Regions from separate parts of the Homo sapiens genome. Here all the other regions are linked to region 1. The links are contacts of gene promoters, found by promoter capture Hi-C in blood cells and fetal thymus (Javierre and others, 2016). All regions are on one chromosome and are shown on one strand. The core of a region is centred on a gene start or on the middle of the fragment in contact, and the rest is flanking DNA. Distances in the headings are between cores, read along the strand shown.

What was found. The method cuts DNA at HindIII sites, captures the fragments that hold promoters and counts their contacts. A CHiCAGO score of 5 or more calls a contact.
Region 2: a fragment that was not itself captured here is called in contact with the fragment with the promoter of ABCB5 in region 1 in 1 of 17 cell types (M2 macrophages); the score reaches 5.4 in M2 macrophages.
Region 3: a fragment that was not itself captured here is called in contact with the fragment with the promoter of ABCB5 in region 1 in 1 of 17 cell types (M2 macrophages); the score reaches 5.2 in M2 macrophages.
Region 4: a contact is called between a fragment that was not itself captured here and the fragment with the promoter of ABCB5 in region 1, in 1 of 17 cell types (M2 macrophages). The highest score is 6.0, in M2 macrophages.
Region 5: a fragment that was not itself captured here is called in contact with the fragment with the promoter of ABCB5 in region 1 in 1 of 17 cell types (M2 macrophages); the score reaches 5.3 in M2 macrophages.
Region 6: a fragment that was not itself captured here is called in contact with the fragment with the promoter of ABCB5 in region 1 in 1 of 17 cell types (monocytes); the score reaches 5.0 in monocytes.

What each region holds. Positions count from the first base shown.
Region 1 is chr7:20,614,366-20,616,976 of GRCh38, reverse strand. It overlaps ABCB5 (ATP binding cassette subfamily B member 5), which reads right to left and starts at 1,310. Exons shown (of 28, transcript NM_001163941.2): 1 at 1,140-1,310. The HindIII fragment of the contact is 15,833 bases long and covers 1,238-2,611 here.
Region 2 is chr7:19,841,211-19,843,821 of GRCh38, reverse strand. No RefSeq gene overlaps it. Among named protein-coding and RNA genes, the nearest start is that of TMEM196, 69 kb to the right of the region's middle. The HindIII fragment of the contact is 1,914 bases long and covers 351-2,264 here.
Region 3 is chr7:19,911,474-19,914,084 of GRCh38, reverse strand. No RefSeq gene overlaps it. Among named protein-coding and RNA genes, the nearest start is that of TMEM196, 140 kb to the right of the region's middle. The HindIII fragment of the contact is 4,445 bases long and covers 1-2,611 here.
Region 4 is chr7:19,945,681-19,948,291 of GRCh38, reverse strand. The region is part of intron 5 of MACC1-OT1 (MACC1 3' UTR overlapping transcript 1); the gene reads left to right. Among named protein-coding and RNA genes, the nearest start is that of TMEM196, 170 kb to the right of the region's middle. The HindIII fragment of the contact is 2,664 bases long and covers 1-2,611 here.
Region 5 is chr7:19,972,991-19,975,601 of GRCh38, reverse strand. All of the region lies in intron 3 of MACC1-OT1 (MACC1 3' UTR overlapping transcript 1), which reads left to right. Among named protein-coding and RNA genes, the nearest start is that of MACC1-OT1, 170 kb to the left of the region's middle. The HindIII fragment of the contact is 4,567 bases long and covers 1-2,611 here.
Region 6 is chr7:20,015,687-20,018,297 of GRCh38, reverse strand. All of the region lies in intron 3 of MACC1-OT1 (MACC1 3' UTR overlapping transcript 1), which reads left to right. Among named protein-coding and RNA genes, the nearest start is that of MACC1-OT1, 120 kb to the left of the region's middle. The HindIII fragment of the contact is 6,253 bases long and covers 1-2,611 here.

The DNA.
Region 1 (2,611 bases), core at 61-2,560:
ATTATAAAAGGAGGTTGCTATATAAAGATCAAAAAGACTATCCCAGGCAGAAGGAATACTATTTAGATAGTAGAGAAAAGTGCACTGAGACAAAGCGACACAAGGTCAAAGCAATTTGTGAGCCAGTTGGCAGGTCCTCACTGTATGGAAAGCTACAGGTTGACTATGATGGCTGCCCCCATGTTCCTCTCTGTTACCCAATGTTTCAAAAGGAAGATAAATTTAACTTGAAACTTGTCAAGTTTGAGATATTTGTGAGATAATCAGGTAGTAATATCCAGCACTAAGTAGATAACATGAGAGAAGAACTCTGAACATCTTAATTGCTCTACACAAAATCTATCAGTCAGCCAATTCTTACTTATTGACAGCTGTGTGGATGCTATCATGGCAAGTACTATGGAACATACAAGAAAATGTAAAAATAGACAGAATATTTTATTTATAAGGACTTTTGCCTTAAAAAATATTTCTAGGTTCATGTACCAAGATGGAAATCATAGGACAAAATACCCATGTGAGAAGAAATCATGAGATGCACTTAACGTTCAAGCATCCTTGGTAAGAATAATCTGACAAATAGCTAAGATATACTGGTTGGATGGAAAACATGGGATCTTTGGTTAGATGAAAGAAGATATGGCTGGGCGCAGTGGCTCATGCCTGTAATCCCAGCACTTTGGGAGGCCAAGGCGGCTGGATCATCTGAGGTCAGGAGTTCGAGACCAGCCTGTCCAACAAGGTGAAACCCCATCTCTACTAAAAATAAAAAAATTAGCTGGGCATGGTGCTGGGCACCTGCAATCCCAGCTACTCAGAAGGCTGAGCCAGGAAAATCTCTTGAACCCTGGAGGCGGAGGTTGCAGTGAGCCAACATCGTGCCACTGCACTCCAGCCTGGGTGACAGAGTGAGACCCTGTCACAGGGAAAGAAAGAAAGAAGATATGAATTGTATGGATGCTTTAAAATGACCAAAATAATAGTAGGATGATCATTTCTGACTATGAAAAAGTTTCATACACACACATTTTTGTTTCCATCTTTACCACAAACTATTCTTTCTAAGATGGAGAAGTGTTTTATATTCTTCACAAGCTTCAATTGTTTTCATAATCTCTAATACTTTTGCTTTGACTTACTTTAATTCCTTAGATGCTGTTTTGAGTGGGCCCCATCCAGTCAGTTGAAGTCCTTAAGAGAAAAGACTGAAGTCTTCTGAAGAGGATAGGATAAAGCTTTCAGATACAAGGTATCAATTTTTTGCCAGAATTTCCAGCCTTCTAGTCTGGCTTGTGGATTTTGGAAGTGCCAGTCACCACAATTACATGAGCGTGTTTTCTCTTTCTCTCTCTACATACACACACACACACACACACACACACACACACACACACGGCCTATTGATTCTATTTCTCTAGGGGAACCTAATATACCTGGCAAGACAGACGTTATGTGATGAATAGTACAAAGAGTGACTATTCTAGTATCTAAGAAGACTGAGGAAGAACATTGTGATCTAAAATGGTTTCGCCCACAGATGAGGATGGCCCTGAGGTTAGTTTCTGGAGGAAGGCTAAGGTTTCAGTAAGTAGAAAAATGTGGAGGAGGAACAAGGGCATAGTTTTAGGAATGCAAGGTGAATTATCTCATGGTAGAGAAATGAGAACGGTTTGGATAGGATGGACTGTTCATGCAGAAATGGAGAGAGAGATAAGGTACATACGATTGTAAAAGGCACTGAACCAATTTTTAGGACAACTTTTATAATTTTCTGGAATGAAAGAGACAAAGCCATTGGTATTTGGTACAATTAACCTGATTATTTGACATTACAGCCATGGATATACTGGAAGGACTTGGGGAAACACAAGATTTAAGTAGACTCATTAAAATCTAGTTTGATAGCAGTAAGTAAGACTATTTGAGAGGTATTTTTAAGGCGGTAGGTAGGTAAAGAGGACAAGGAAGAAGAAATAAAAAAAATATAAGTTCAGCGATCAAACTTTTAAAAGTTGTAACAAAAGAGTAGTAAAGATGGTAATAGAGAAGTTATGAGACAGAATTGGTTTTGGGGAAATGGTAACATTCAGTTTAAATATGCAAATTTGGGTTGATATTGGTGTCCAAGTGAAAATATCTGGCAAACAGATGTAAATGTGGCACTAATAATTAGGAAAATTGCCAACCTAGAGATAAACTTGCAATTGTCATATGCACAGAAGGAATAATTAATTTTGCTTTAAAAATCTCATGATGTCATCTAAATGCACAGAAGTGGTGTAATGTAGCTAAAAGTGTTACTTCTAGAGCAGAGCCATCCAACAGAACTTTCTGCAATAATTGAGATATTCTCCACACATCCAATATCCTAGCCGCTACACATATGTGGCTATTGAGCGCTTTTAATGTGCCTAGTGAGGGAGCTGAATTTTGAGTTTTATATAATTTTAATTAATTTATTTTATTTATTCAGCTTTAATATGTATAATTGACAAATACTATTGTCTATATTTAAGGTTTACAACATGATGATGTGATATACATATACATTGTGAAATGATTACTGCAATGAGCACATCCATCACTTCACATATTTACGTGTTTGTGTGTG
Region 2 (2,611 bases), core at 58-2,557, 770 kb after region 1:
AGTTCTAACCTCTCAGCTGAACATAGGGATTTTCTGTATTTAAGAAATTCTAGTAAAAAATATTTATAAAAATAACATTTCGGTCCTGTTGACACATTGATGAAGGTAAAGAGAAGAGATAAATGGTTGCAAGATTATGTCTGGATTTGAAAATTTTAAAAGAAAATGCAAAGGTTAGAAATATATAACATTGTACCTAATTCACATTTTAACTGCAACTTAGGCCTGAAAAAGCAACAGTCTGATTAATAAACAAATTTCTCCAGAATGTGTTAAAGTATGTAATATATGTAAATCTTTAATTAACCATGCCCCTTAACTTTTGGAAATTAAATATTAATGCAAAAGCTTTGTTCCATAAGTGAAATTAAATTATTTGGAGATGTTATACACATTTGCAAACTGTAGTTAAATTGTGGTCCTTTGAACACACTAACATTTTATTTTCCTTTGGCATCAATTCTTGGTGTTCACTATTCTTAATGGGAAACAATTATAAATGAATTATTTAAACCTGTAGTTTTAGGAACCTAGAAGAATCCTTATGATTATCAAAGCAAAGACTCCAGCAGACAGCTAGAAAGAAAAAAAATATGGACCAATGAGATTTTCCATATTCCTTTTTGTTTTTAAAACTTAATCTAACAACACCTGATATGTTAAGGTTAATATATCACTAACTTAGTCTTTAAATTATCTTAATAATTTTACTTTTGTGAGGACTACTAGTCCATCTTCTATATAGCTTCTATTTCTTTACTATGACAATTGGTCCAATATGACACAACATTTTTATTACCAGTGGTGTATTAGTAAAGATCCAATTATAGCATTTGGTAATAGTTTACTTTTATTGAATCTAACATTATTGGTTGTCAGATTAATACATTATTTTATGTTTATTAATAATAAATGAATTATTATTTTATATACTGCTGGGAAAGAAAAAAACACTTCTGCTTCAATTATAACTCAATTGTTTGTCCCTTAGCATTTTATATTATCCCTAAATAACTATTTTAGATATATTTAGACATAATTTTATACTATAATCCCTCATGCCTATATGAAAAGATAAATGTAAACAAAATAATTGTTTGAAACATTTCTAAATTTTTTTCTCAGTATTTCATTTTCCTGAGTCACTTTTTAACTCAGTCCTTAATATCCAGATTTTTCTCCCAGTAGCATCTTCTCTGCAATGAAGAACAAAAGTTATGCAACATTTTTTAAAATAATAGAATTTATTCTAAACCAAACATCATGCATTCCACAAATTTTAGTACTATCACTTTCTTTATCTTGCCAGGAAGTGTCAAAGTACCTATATATTTTCTCGGTAATATGAACCATCAAACTGGGTTCTCATGATACTGCAAGGTATCATGAAGCAAAGCTAATGGAGGGAACACAAACTTTGAGATCAGAAATAGCTGGTATAAATTATTGCTCTGTGTTTAAATTAGGAAATTTTAATGAACCTCTTTGATCATCAATATCTTCATTTGTAAAGTAAGGGGGATGATGCTTGCATACAAGATCTTGTGAGTATTGGAGATAATGTAAAGCCCTTTGCCCAGCACCTGGTACATAGCAGGCAGTTGCATATTTCTAATGGCAGGCACTTAATATATTTCTAATGCTAATGTTAGAAGAAATGTGAATCTTCTGCTAATGAGTATAAAAAGTTAGTTATGCAGTCTGGTTTGACTTTTGATATTACAGTGAATTTAAGCATTACTTTTCCCATCTTAATTTGGACATTATTCTTTCTCAAACTTATTTTAATTCTAACCCAAAAGCAGATATTATATTTAGCCATTCTTGCTTGCTAGTCCAAATTTTACATGTATATTTTGAATAGACCTATTTTTTCTACAAATTTGACATTAAAGAATATCTATTTTAAGAAAATATATAATTTATTAATTAGAAATTCATATTTTAGGTAATTTGAATAACTGTCAAAGTAATTGCATTTTAACATGGTGGCAAGAAAAGCATGGAAGAAAAGATAAATTGATAATTACATACTTTCACATTTTTGAAAGGAGAAAACAAATTATGAAGTGTTTTAGGAAGATATTTGCTATATAATATGACTTAATCCATATAGTCATGAAATCTGAAGCATGGTTGTCCTAGATAGGGTAATAATTTGTCACCTCTTCAAAACCACTGAAGGGAAATTGCTTATCATTCACAAAATCCCATTCTTCCTTTTTCCTATATAATATATCTGTGGCTAGTTGACCAACTAAGCTTTCTTTGCCTCTAATGAAGTCCTGAGTGATTTCTAGGATTTAAGACATTACACACACCTCCTCCACACTCTCTTCTTCCTTACTGCTTGCTGGAAACTGAACATAGCCACTGTCCAGCTTCCACCATACCAATGCCGACCATCTTGCCTGGGCTGCAGGGGCTGGGAAAGTAAAGCTTGTAGGCCAATCTAGCCCATGATCTTTTTGTGTGGTTGCAAGCTAAGCATGGTTTTTACATTTTAAAGGATTTATAATAAGAACATAAATAAGCAGAATTGCACAACAGAGACTGTACGTGGGCTGCTCAGCCTAAAATATATACTGTGATCCTTCACAGAAGAAAAAAG
Region 3 (2,611 bases), core at 51-2,550, 700 kb after region 1:
ACCAAAAATACAAAAATTAGCTGGGCATGGTGGCAGATGCCTGTAATCCCAGCTACTCAGGAGGCTGGGGCAGGAGAATCACTGGAACTGGGGAGGTAGAAGTTGCAGAGAGCCGCGATTGTGCCACTGCACTCCAGCCAGGGTGACAGAGTGAGACTCCATCTCAAAGGAAATAAATAAAATAAAATAAAATATTACTGCTCCTTGACAGTGTACCTGGTCACTCAAGAGCCGTAATAGAGTTATGCAAAAATATTAATGTTGTTTTCATGTGTGCTAACACAACATTCATTCTATGGCCCATGGATCAAGAAATCATTTGACTTCCAAGTCAGATTATTTAAGAAATACATTTTGTAAAGCTATTGCTGCTATAGATAGTAATTCTTCATATGAATCTTTGCAAAGTAAACTGAAAACCTAGAAATGATTCACCATTCTAAACGTCTTTAAGAACATTCATGATTTGTAGAAGAAGGTCAACATGTCAATATTAACAAGAATTTGGAAGAAGTTCATTCCATCCCTCATGGATGACTTTGAGGGGGTCAGGAATTCAATGGAGGAAGTCACCGATTATGGGATAGGAATAGCAAAAGAACTGCTGAAGATATTGTGAACATTGTTGAAATGGCAACAAATGATTTAGAATATTACATAAACTTAGTTGATATAGAAACAGCAGGGTTTAAGAGGACTGACTCCAATTTTGAAAGTTATTCTGTGGATCAAATGCTATAAAACAAGATTTCATGCTCTTTTGTGATAGGAAAAGCCAATCGATATGGCAAACTTCAATGCTGTCTTATTTTAAGAAATTGCCACTGCCACCTTGGCCTTCAGCAACCACAACCATAATCAGTCAGCAGTCATCAACACAGAGGCAAGACACTCAACCAGGAAAAAGATTATGGCTTGTTGAAGGCTGAGATGATTGTTAGCATTTTTAGCAGTAAAGTATTTTTTAATTAAGGTATGCACATTGATTTTTTAAACATAATGCTATTGTACATTTAATATACTATTGTATAGGGTAAACATAACTTTTATATGAACTGAGAAGCTAAAAACTTCAGTGATTTGCTATATTGTGATACTTGCTTTATTGTGGTAATGTGAACTGAGCCCACAACATCTCTGAGTCGTGCCTGTAGTTGATTACTAGTTGATGTAGAATAAAAGTACACAAAATTTCAAATGTGTGACAGTCATAATTTTTTATTTAAAGAACCACTTTGTAGATTGAGTTAAAATTGTTAGCATTAGACTCAGTGCTTCTCAGGGAAGCATAGAAAAGTGGGTTATGGGAAGCACATTAAGTATTGTATAAAAAATTTAAGATCATTTGGAGGGCTTAAAGCATTTGTCCCATCCAGACTCTTATTTTTGAAAGTATTAATTTTCCATGCTTATACTAGGGGTGAGGGGAGCAAAAGAAAGGAATGGAATTGAAAAGTATGTGCTGATAATCAGGTACCCACTAGTAAAAGCTAGAGATTATAACTGTATATTTCTTTAAACATTTAAAATAATATTTTAGCTACTACCAATAAGTAGATATTGTAATTGTGAATGTTCAAAGCTAATCTTTGCAGACACAACACCAACAACAAAATAATATTTATCCCTTCAAGTTCATAGTGGGAATATCTCTATATTTCTAAAAAGAGCCCAAGAAATGCTGAAAAGCCAGTAACATAAAGAAAAATATAAACGAAGTTGGTGTAAAACAAAAATCATTACTGAACAAAGACAATAAGATACATATCTTAAAAATAGAAATTTATTCTGAGCTACACTATATAGGAAGGTATTTTAAGGTATTAAAATAACATTCATGAATTGTTCCTGCCATCCCAGCACAAGACTCTGTTACAGCAGCCTTTTGTACAGGTCACAGGGGACCAACTTGTTGGCAATACCTAGCAACAAGTCTCCCTAAATGACTTCTGCCAACAATGCCTTCTGGTCCTCAGCAAGACTTGTTAATCAGGGCTCATTGGCTCTCTTTCCTTTGATTTGTAGCCTAAATTCACAGTTGAGGGGAAAAGGAAATCAATACAGATCTACATACTGTATATTAGAAATAGATCTTTGCTAATTATGTTTTAATACAAAATATATTTATTAAGTTTTTCCATATTTGACTCTGTATTGTTTAATGACACATTTCAAAAACAGATATGTCTATAGAAAATGTTATATTTTAGATTATTAATTCCATGAAAGACAGAGACCATGATGTATAAATATTGAACTGAGGTGGCAGTAGACATACTCTTTGAAAATGTAATAATAAAATACTGCTGTTAATACTTATTATCATTGGTTACATTTATTAATAACATTCTTTTGTTAGGTACCATCTATAAACCAGGAATTATGGGTTTTTTTATTTTAGTGGGTACATACTTGGTATAAATACTTATGAGGTATTTTGATATGGGCACAAACTGTGTAATAATCACATCGTAGTAAATGAGGTATCCATCACTTCAAGCATTTATCTTTTATTTGTGTCACAAAAAATCCAATTATTCCCTTTTGGTTATTTTTAAATGTACAATAAATTTTTGCTGACTGTTCTATCAAATACTAGATCTTATTCATT
Region 4 (2,611 bases), core at 59-2,558, 670 kb after region 1:
TATTGAGAATTATGATTTAAAACTATAATGATGTACATATTGCTTTTTGATAGGCAAATATTTAAAAATATTGTTTAATAATGACCTCTGTTTTCTAGGATGTGGGCGTGTCACTTGGCAAAAGCAGGCGTAATGGACAAAGAGAGTGGGGGTGGGGAGGTGCCACACCCTTTTAAATGACCAAGAACTCACACACTATCACGAAGACAGCACCAAGCCATGAGAGATCCACCCCCAGGATCCAAACGCTTTCAACCATCCCCTGCCTTCAGCACTGGGGATTGTAATCCAACATGAGATTTGGGTGGAGACAAATACCAAAACTGTATCAAACTGAGAACTTTGGAGCCAGGGAAAGGAGAGAGCTTACCATTGCTGAGAGACAGAAAGATATCTATCTATCTATCGATAGATAGAAAGATATCTATCTATCGATAGAGAGATAGATAGATAGACAGATAGATACATAGATACAAACTATATATATGTCAACCATATATATATCAACTATATATATATCTTTATATATATATAGAGGGAGAGAGAGAAGAAACATAAATATTTGAGCAAGTTTTTCTCATAGATGTGTCATTACTAAACTTTTATTCCTTGGTTAGGAAATGGAGCTGATCCATAATGCACAGTTGAGATTCTAAATTTCATGTTAAAAAATTAGCTATAATAAATGAAATGAGAGGACTAAATATATTATAAAGTTATATTAATATACATGAATTAGTTACACAAGTTAAGACAGTTTATTACCAATGAATGAACAAATTAAATGGAACCAAATAAAAACTGAAGAGAGAGTTCTGAAAATATCAAAATTTAGTATATGATAAACAAAATATTTCAAATCAGTTGGAAATATTGAATTTAATGAGTATTGGGAAAACCAGATATTCATTCTGGGAAAGAAGAAAAAATCAGATAAATTAGATTAGCTTTTCACATCTTAGACACTGGTTATTTAAAAATGAATTAGAGATTTAACTATAAAAAAGGTAAATAGAAGTGTTTTTAAAATGGAAAATAATTGTTTTATAATTTTGCATAAGAAAGACCTTTCTAGATATTACACATAACCTGGAAGTCATATTAAAGAAACATTTTAACAAATTCAACTACCAAGCGTGCACACATGTACACAGACACACATGTGAAATCTTCTTTCACAGAAAAATGCATCATGAAGAAATACAAACAAAGAGAAAACAGTTTAAAAGTATTTACAATGAATATTAGACAAAAAGCTAATTTCTGTCTCATAGAAAGGGGCACTACACTTGATAAGGAAAATGATCAACAACCCAAAGAAGATATAAATATTTTATAAACATAAAATAGGAGTGGCTCTTAAGTATGTGAAAATATTCCTAGCTGCTCTCATAATAAGATAATTATGATTTAAACCTATATTGAGATACATATTACCTTTTGATAGGCAAATACTTAAAAATACTATTTGATCGTGAACTCTGTTTTCTAGGATGTGGGGAAACAACTTTCATAGAAATGTAACTTTTTACAACCACTGTGGAAAGTCATTTGGCAACACCTGTCAGAGTTATAAACACCTGCTCATTTAATTCTGGAATTTAACTTCTGAAATACATTATGTAGATAAACTTTGTGCATGCAAAACGACTTGGATGTAAAGTTCCTCACTGCAGTTTTATGTAAAAAAGCCAAAGATAGGAAATAATCCCATGTCCATCAAGATGGGACATGGTTACACCATGTTGCATCCACTGCTAAAGAAAATAATGAGGAAGTTTTTTATGCACTGGCATAAATTAATTTCCATGTTTTTTGATAAAAGCATGTTCATGTGGGCACATATACACCCATACATACTTTTATACACGTATCGGTTTAATACACACAATTACTCTAGAAGTGTATGCAGACCACTGATAAGCTGTTGCCTCAGAGTGAAAAACTAGGTACTTGGGAGTGGGGGCAGCAGGAAGATTTTTACTGTAAATCCTGTTGCACCCTTGGGATTGTGCACCATGTGAATGCATTGCCTTTTAAATAGTAAATTCAGGAAAACACGGTAAGAAATTTGAAATTGAGTCTCACAAAATCTGAGCAGTTCTTTAGAATCCACCATTGCTAAGGTGACTGAGACAGCCTAGAGTCTACTTGGTAAAAATGGGATTTTGTTGATTCTTCTAGTCACTGTGAACTGCTATTAAAAATCATTAAGTTATATTATCTGATTCTGTTTGACTTAGTATGTTTTTGAGCCTTTTCTGTTTCTACCAGCATCTCAACTATTTCTGGTTCAATGTTTCTGATTCAAATGCTTTTGGAAAGACTCTAAGATTGGTCCAATTACTGCCATCATCTCTGCAAGTCACTTCTTTCATACCAGATAATTATTTGCCATTGTCAGTCTATACATTGACTCACCTTTGTTGGTGACCCATTCTTGGGCAATCGTTTATGGTCAGGTAGACTACAATTTCAGTTATATGCAGTAATAATTCTCAATAATGTCAATGTTATTGGCCCCACTTCTCCTGCCTGCCAGCATTTGTTTGCTGCCCCCACAAAAGACCTCAACAAAAATACCTAATCTCTATTTCAACTTCTCTTTTCA
Region 5 (2,611 bases), core at 52-2,551, 640 kb after region 1:
ATGCTAATACCAAAACCAGACAAAGACATTACAAGAAAACTACAGACCAATAGTTCTCATAAATATAGATGTAAAGTCCTCAACAAAATAATAACAAAACAAAATTAAATCTAACTATGCATAAAAATAATTATATGGCATAACCAGGAAATTTATCTCAAATATGCAAGGCTCATTTAACATTGAAAAATTAATTAAGGTAAGTAATCATATTAACAGTCTAAAAATCACAGGATCATATCCATAAATGCATAAAAAATACTTGATGAAAATCTAACACTCATTCAAATCTGAGAGTTTTTGCTGAGAGACAAATAACTCAGCAAACTAGGAATAGAGGAAAACTTTATTAACTGGATAAATAATATACACACAAAAATATCTTATGCTGACATCATACTTAATGGTGAAAATCTAGACAATTTCCTGCAAAAATAAGGAAAAACGAAAGGGAGTTCCTCTTACCTTTCTTTTTCAAGATCATATTGGTAGTCTGAGCTAATGCAATACTTTTGTTTTTTATAAAAAGAAATAAAGACAGGCATATTGGGAAGGAAGAAATAAAACTGTCTTTATTTTCAGATGACATACTTATCTATGTGGAAAAACCAAAAGAATTAACAATATTTTTCTGAAATTAATAAGTGATTACAGCAAGGTTGCATGATACAAGATTAATATAAAAAAGTCAATCATTTGTCTATATACCAGCAATGAGTAAGTGGAATTTGAAATTAAAAACATTATGCCATTTACATTAGTACTCCCTCCAACAGTGAAATACTTAGTATAAATCTAACAAAATATGTACAAGATTTATATAAGCAAAACTGCAAAACTCAAATATCAAAGAACTAAATAAATGGAGAGATATTTCATGTTTGTGGATAGGAAGGTTCAGTATTATCAAGATGTCAGTTCTTCCTAACTTGATATATAGATACAACACAATCCCAATCAAAATCTCAGTAAGTTATTATGTGAACAAACTGATTCAAAAATTTATATGGACAGACAAGAGAACTAGAATAGCCAATTCAATATTGAAGGAGAAGAACAAAGTTAGAGGACTAACACTATTGATTTCAAGACTTACTATAAAGCTACAGTCATCAAAATGTACGGTGCTGGTGAAAGAATAGACAAATAGATCAATGGAACAAAATAGAAAGCCCTAAAATAGACCCACATAAATATAGTCAACTGATCTGCAAAAAAGGAGCAAAGATGATACAATGGAGCAAAAACAGTCTTTTCCACAAACAGTGCTAGGACAATTAGACATTCACATGCAAAAAAAAAAAAAAAAAAAAAAGAAAAGAATCTAGACATAGACCTTACACCTTTCACAAAAATTAGGATGGATTACATATGTAAATACTGTAAATGCAAAACTATTATAAAAAATATACAGAAAACTCTTAAACTCCACAACAAGAAAATTAAAAACACAATTTAAAAAGAGCCAAGATCTTGACACCTCACCAAAGAAGATATATGGATGGCAAATAAACATATGAAAATATGTTCCACGTTATATGTCATAAGAGAAATGCAAACTGAAACAACAATGAGAAACCACTACACATCTACTAGAATGGCCAAAATCCAGAACACTAACACAAAATGCTGGTGAAGATGTGAAGCAGTGGAAACTCTCAGTCATTCCTGATGATATGGTACATCCATTTCTGTCTCAGTCATTGCTGGTGATATGGTAGAGCCAATTTGAAGACAGTTTGGTGGTTTCTTACAAAACTAAACATACTCTTAGCATACAACCCAGCAGTCATGCTTCTTGGTATTCATCCAAAGGAGTTGGAAACATATGTTCACAAAGTCCTGCACATGGATGTTTATAGCAGCTTTCTTCATAATTACCCAAATTTGGAAGCAACAAAGATGTCCTGCGGTAGGTAAATGGATAAATAAATGTAATACATACAGACAATGGAATGTTATTCACTAAAAAGAAATGAGCTATCAGGCTGGGCGTGCTGGCTCACACCTGTAATCTCAGCACTGTGGGAGGCTGAGGCAGGCGGATCACGAGCTCAGGAGATCGAGATCAGCCTGGCTAACACAGTGAAACCCCTCCAACCAAAAATACAAAAAATTAGCCGGGTGTGGTGGCATACACCTGTAGTCCCAACTACTCGGGAGGCTGAGGCAGGAGAATCACTTGAACCCAGGAGGTGGAGGTTGCAGTGCGCGGAGATTGCGCCACTGCACTCCAGCCTGGACGATAGAGCAAAACTCTGTCTCAAAAAAAAAAAGAAAAAAAAAAAAAGGAAAGAAAAGAAAAGAAATTAGCTCTCAAGCCATGAAAAGACAAAGAGGTAGCTTAAATGCACATTACTTAGTAAAAGAAGCCAATCTGAAAAGGCTATATACCATACGATTTCAAAATATGGCATTCTGGAAAAAACAAAACTATGGATATAGTAAAAAGTGGTTTCCAAGAGTTAAGGAGGCAGGAGGGAAGAAGAGTTGAAGCACAGAAAATTTTTAGGGAAGTGAAACTATTTTGTATGATGCTACAATAGTGGCTACATGTCATTATTCATTTGTCAAAATCCATAGAATGCATACTACCCAAAGTGAACCCTGA
Region 6 (2,611 bases), core at 38-2,537, 600 kb after region 1:
GACAAGCCTGGCCAACATAGTGAAACCCCTTCTCTACTAAAAATACAAAAAATTAGCTGGGTGTGGTGGCGAAGGCCTGTAGTCCCAGCTACTCAGGAGGCCGAGGCAAGAGAATCGCTTGAGCTTGGGGGGCGGAAGTTGCAGTGAGCCAAGATCGGGCCACTGCACTCCAGCCTGGGAGACAGAGCAAGACTCCATTAAAAAAAAAAAAAAAGGCTGGGCGCGGTGGCTCATGCCTGTAATCCCAGCACTTTGGGAGGCCGAGGCGGGTGGATCACGAGGTCGGGAGTTCAAGACCTGCCTGGCCAAGATGGTGAAACTCCGTCTCTACTAAAAATACAAAAAATTAGCTGGGCGTGGTGGTAGGCACCTGTAATCTCGGCTACGTGGAAGGCTGAGGCAGAGAATTGCTTGAACCCAGGAGGCGGAGGTTGCAGTGAGCCGAGACCACGCCACTGCACTCCAGTCTGGGCGACAGAGTGAGACTCTGTCTCAAAAAAAAAAAAAAAAAAAAAAAAAAGCGACTGGGCAATGTCAATACAAATTAAAACTATATATACCCCTTGGCCTAGCAATCCTACTTTTGGAATTTAACCTATAGAAGTGAAAGCCTCATGCTGGGCACGGTGGCTCATGCCTATAATCCCGGCACTTTGGGAGGCCGAGGTGGATGGCTCATTTGAGGTCAGGAGTTCCAGACCAGCCTAGTCAACATGGTAAAACCTTGTCTCTACTAAAAATACAAACATTAGCCTGGCGTGGTGGTGCATGCCTGTAATCCTACCTACTCGGGAGGCTGAAGCAGGAGAATGGCTTCAGCCTGGGAGGCGGAGGTTGCAGTTCATGGAGATCGAGCCACTGCAATCCAGTCTGGGCGACAGAATGAGACCCTCTTGTCTCAAAAAAAAAAAAAAAAAAAAAAAAAAAGAAGTGAAAGCATCAATACATAAGATGTTTGTTTCAGCACTGTTCATAGAGGCAAAATGAAAAAGAAGAAAAAAAAAGAAAGAAAAGTATTAATGGCTAAAACTTCTTATGTAATATCATTCCATTTATGTAAAATTTTTACATGAGTGCATAAGGGATTCATGAAAAGAAAATCACAACATATTAATAGTGTTTATTAAATCTCATGATAATTGGATTTCCATTGATGTTTTACTTTATTATTTTATGTATTATTGGAAGTCTATCAATAAACATGTGTTGTAAAATATATATTAGGTTGGTGCAAAAGTAATGGCACAAACTGCAACTACTTTTGCACCAATCTAATAATTAAAAATAACATTATGGGGGTTTTTTGTAGAATAATGAAGCAAAACCAAAAAAGTGAATATTTTATCAGGGCTAATATTTTATTTGCTATGCTGATGTGAAGCATCACGTATGAAGTTTTATTAAAATTGAATCTTATAAAATGAGTCAGCAATTTTTATCATGATTAATAAATATACAATTATGAATCATCTTCCAAGGTCACAAAGAACAGAGGCAGAATTTCCAAAATAGTTGACCATGCCCGAAGATGCCTTTTCTTATCTGGCAAAGAGAAAGCCACTTCAGAATAAAGGTTACAATCATATGCCTTGGCATTCACAAAGCCACTGATGTATTCCTTCATCAATTCAAATTTAAGCTCCATTATAATGTAAGTGCATAAGGGCAAAGGCTTCATTTATCTCATTCCCAGTCATCTGCCCAGTAGCTAGCACAGTGACTGCCTCATCACAGAAACTCAATAAATATTTAATAAAGGAGGGAATGAACTTACACATTCATCCAAGACATAACTTTTTTACTTTTGTTATTTTATTATTTAATATTCACTCTAAATTTTCCCATACGTATTTGTTTAGTAATGACTATGTTCAAAGAAGTTAAACATGAATATTAGAGTAAGTAACTAGAACAAATACTAATTTGAGTCTTTCTATGTATCAGGTATTGTTCTAAGGGCTTTATTTATATTAGCTTATTTAATAATCGGAGAATATTACTCCAACTTTACAAATGGTAATGCGGAGGCACTTCATTTGTCTAAGTTTCCACAACTACCAAGTTGCAGACCCAGGATTTGACTCCAGGTAATCTATGTCTACAGTCAACCTTTCCCTCCAATCATATACTAAATCTCTAAGAATATAAGGATGCTGAAAACTGCTAGACCAGACATTCACAACTGACACAGCTTGGTTTTATTTTCTCTGCTAATGAAGGGTTGGCTTCATTGTTACTTAAGCAGCCTCAGAGCAGTGCAGTCCATGGAGATAGTTTGGTTAGGTAGGAGGTAGAACAGATGTGAACAACTTGCCTTGTAAACCAGTTGGGTAAAGATAATTAACAAGAGAAAAACGAAATGATGCCTTGAGTCTAGGGAGACAAAGGGCAAAGGCCAGATCAGAAGGCCAGAGGCCCATGTGAGGATAGATTTGAGAGGATGAGGTTTGACTAAGGTGAAGAGGAGCAGGCAGATGTGATTGACCCTGTACACAGAAGTACAAACCAGAATATTGGTGTTTAGACAAGAAAAAGAGCTCGGCCTAGGGAAATTGCCAAGAATTAAGTATCAGTTCTATGTAACAGCAAGAAATGGCACAGCAGGAGATGG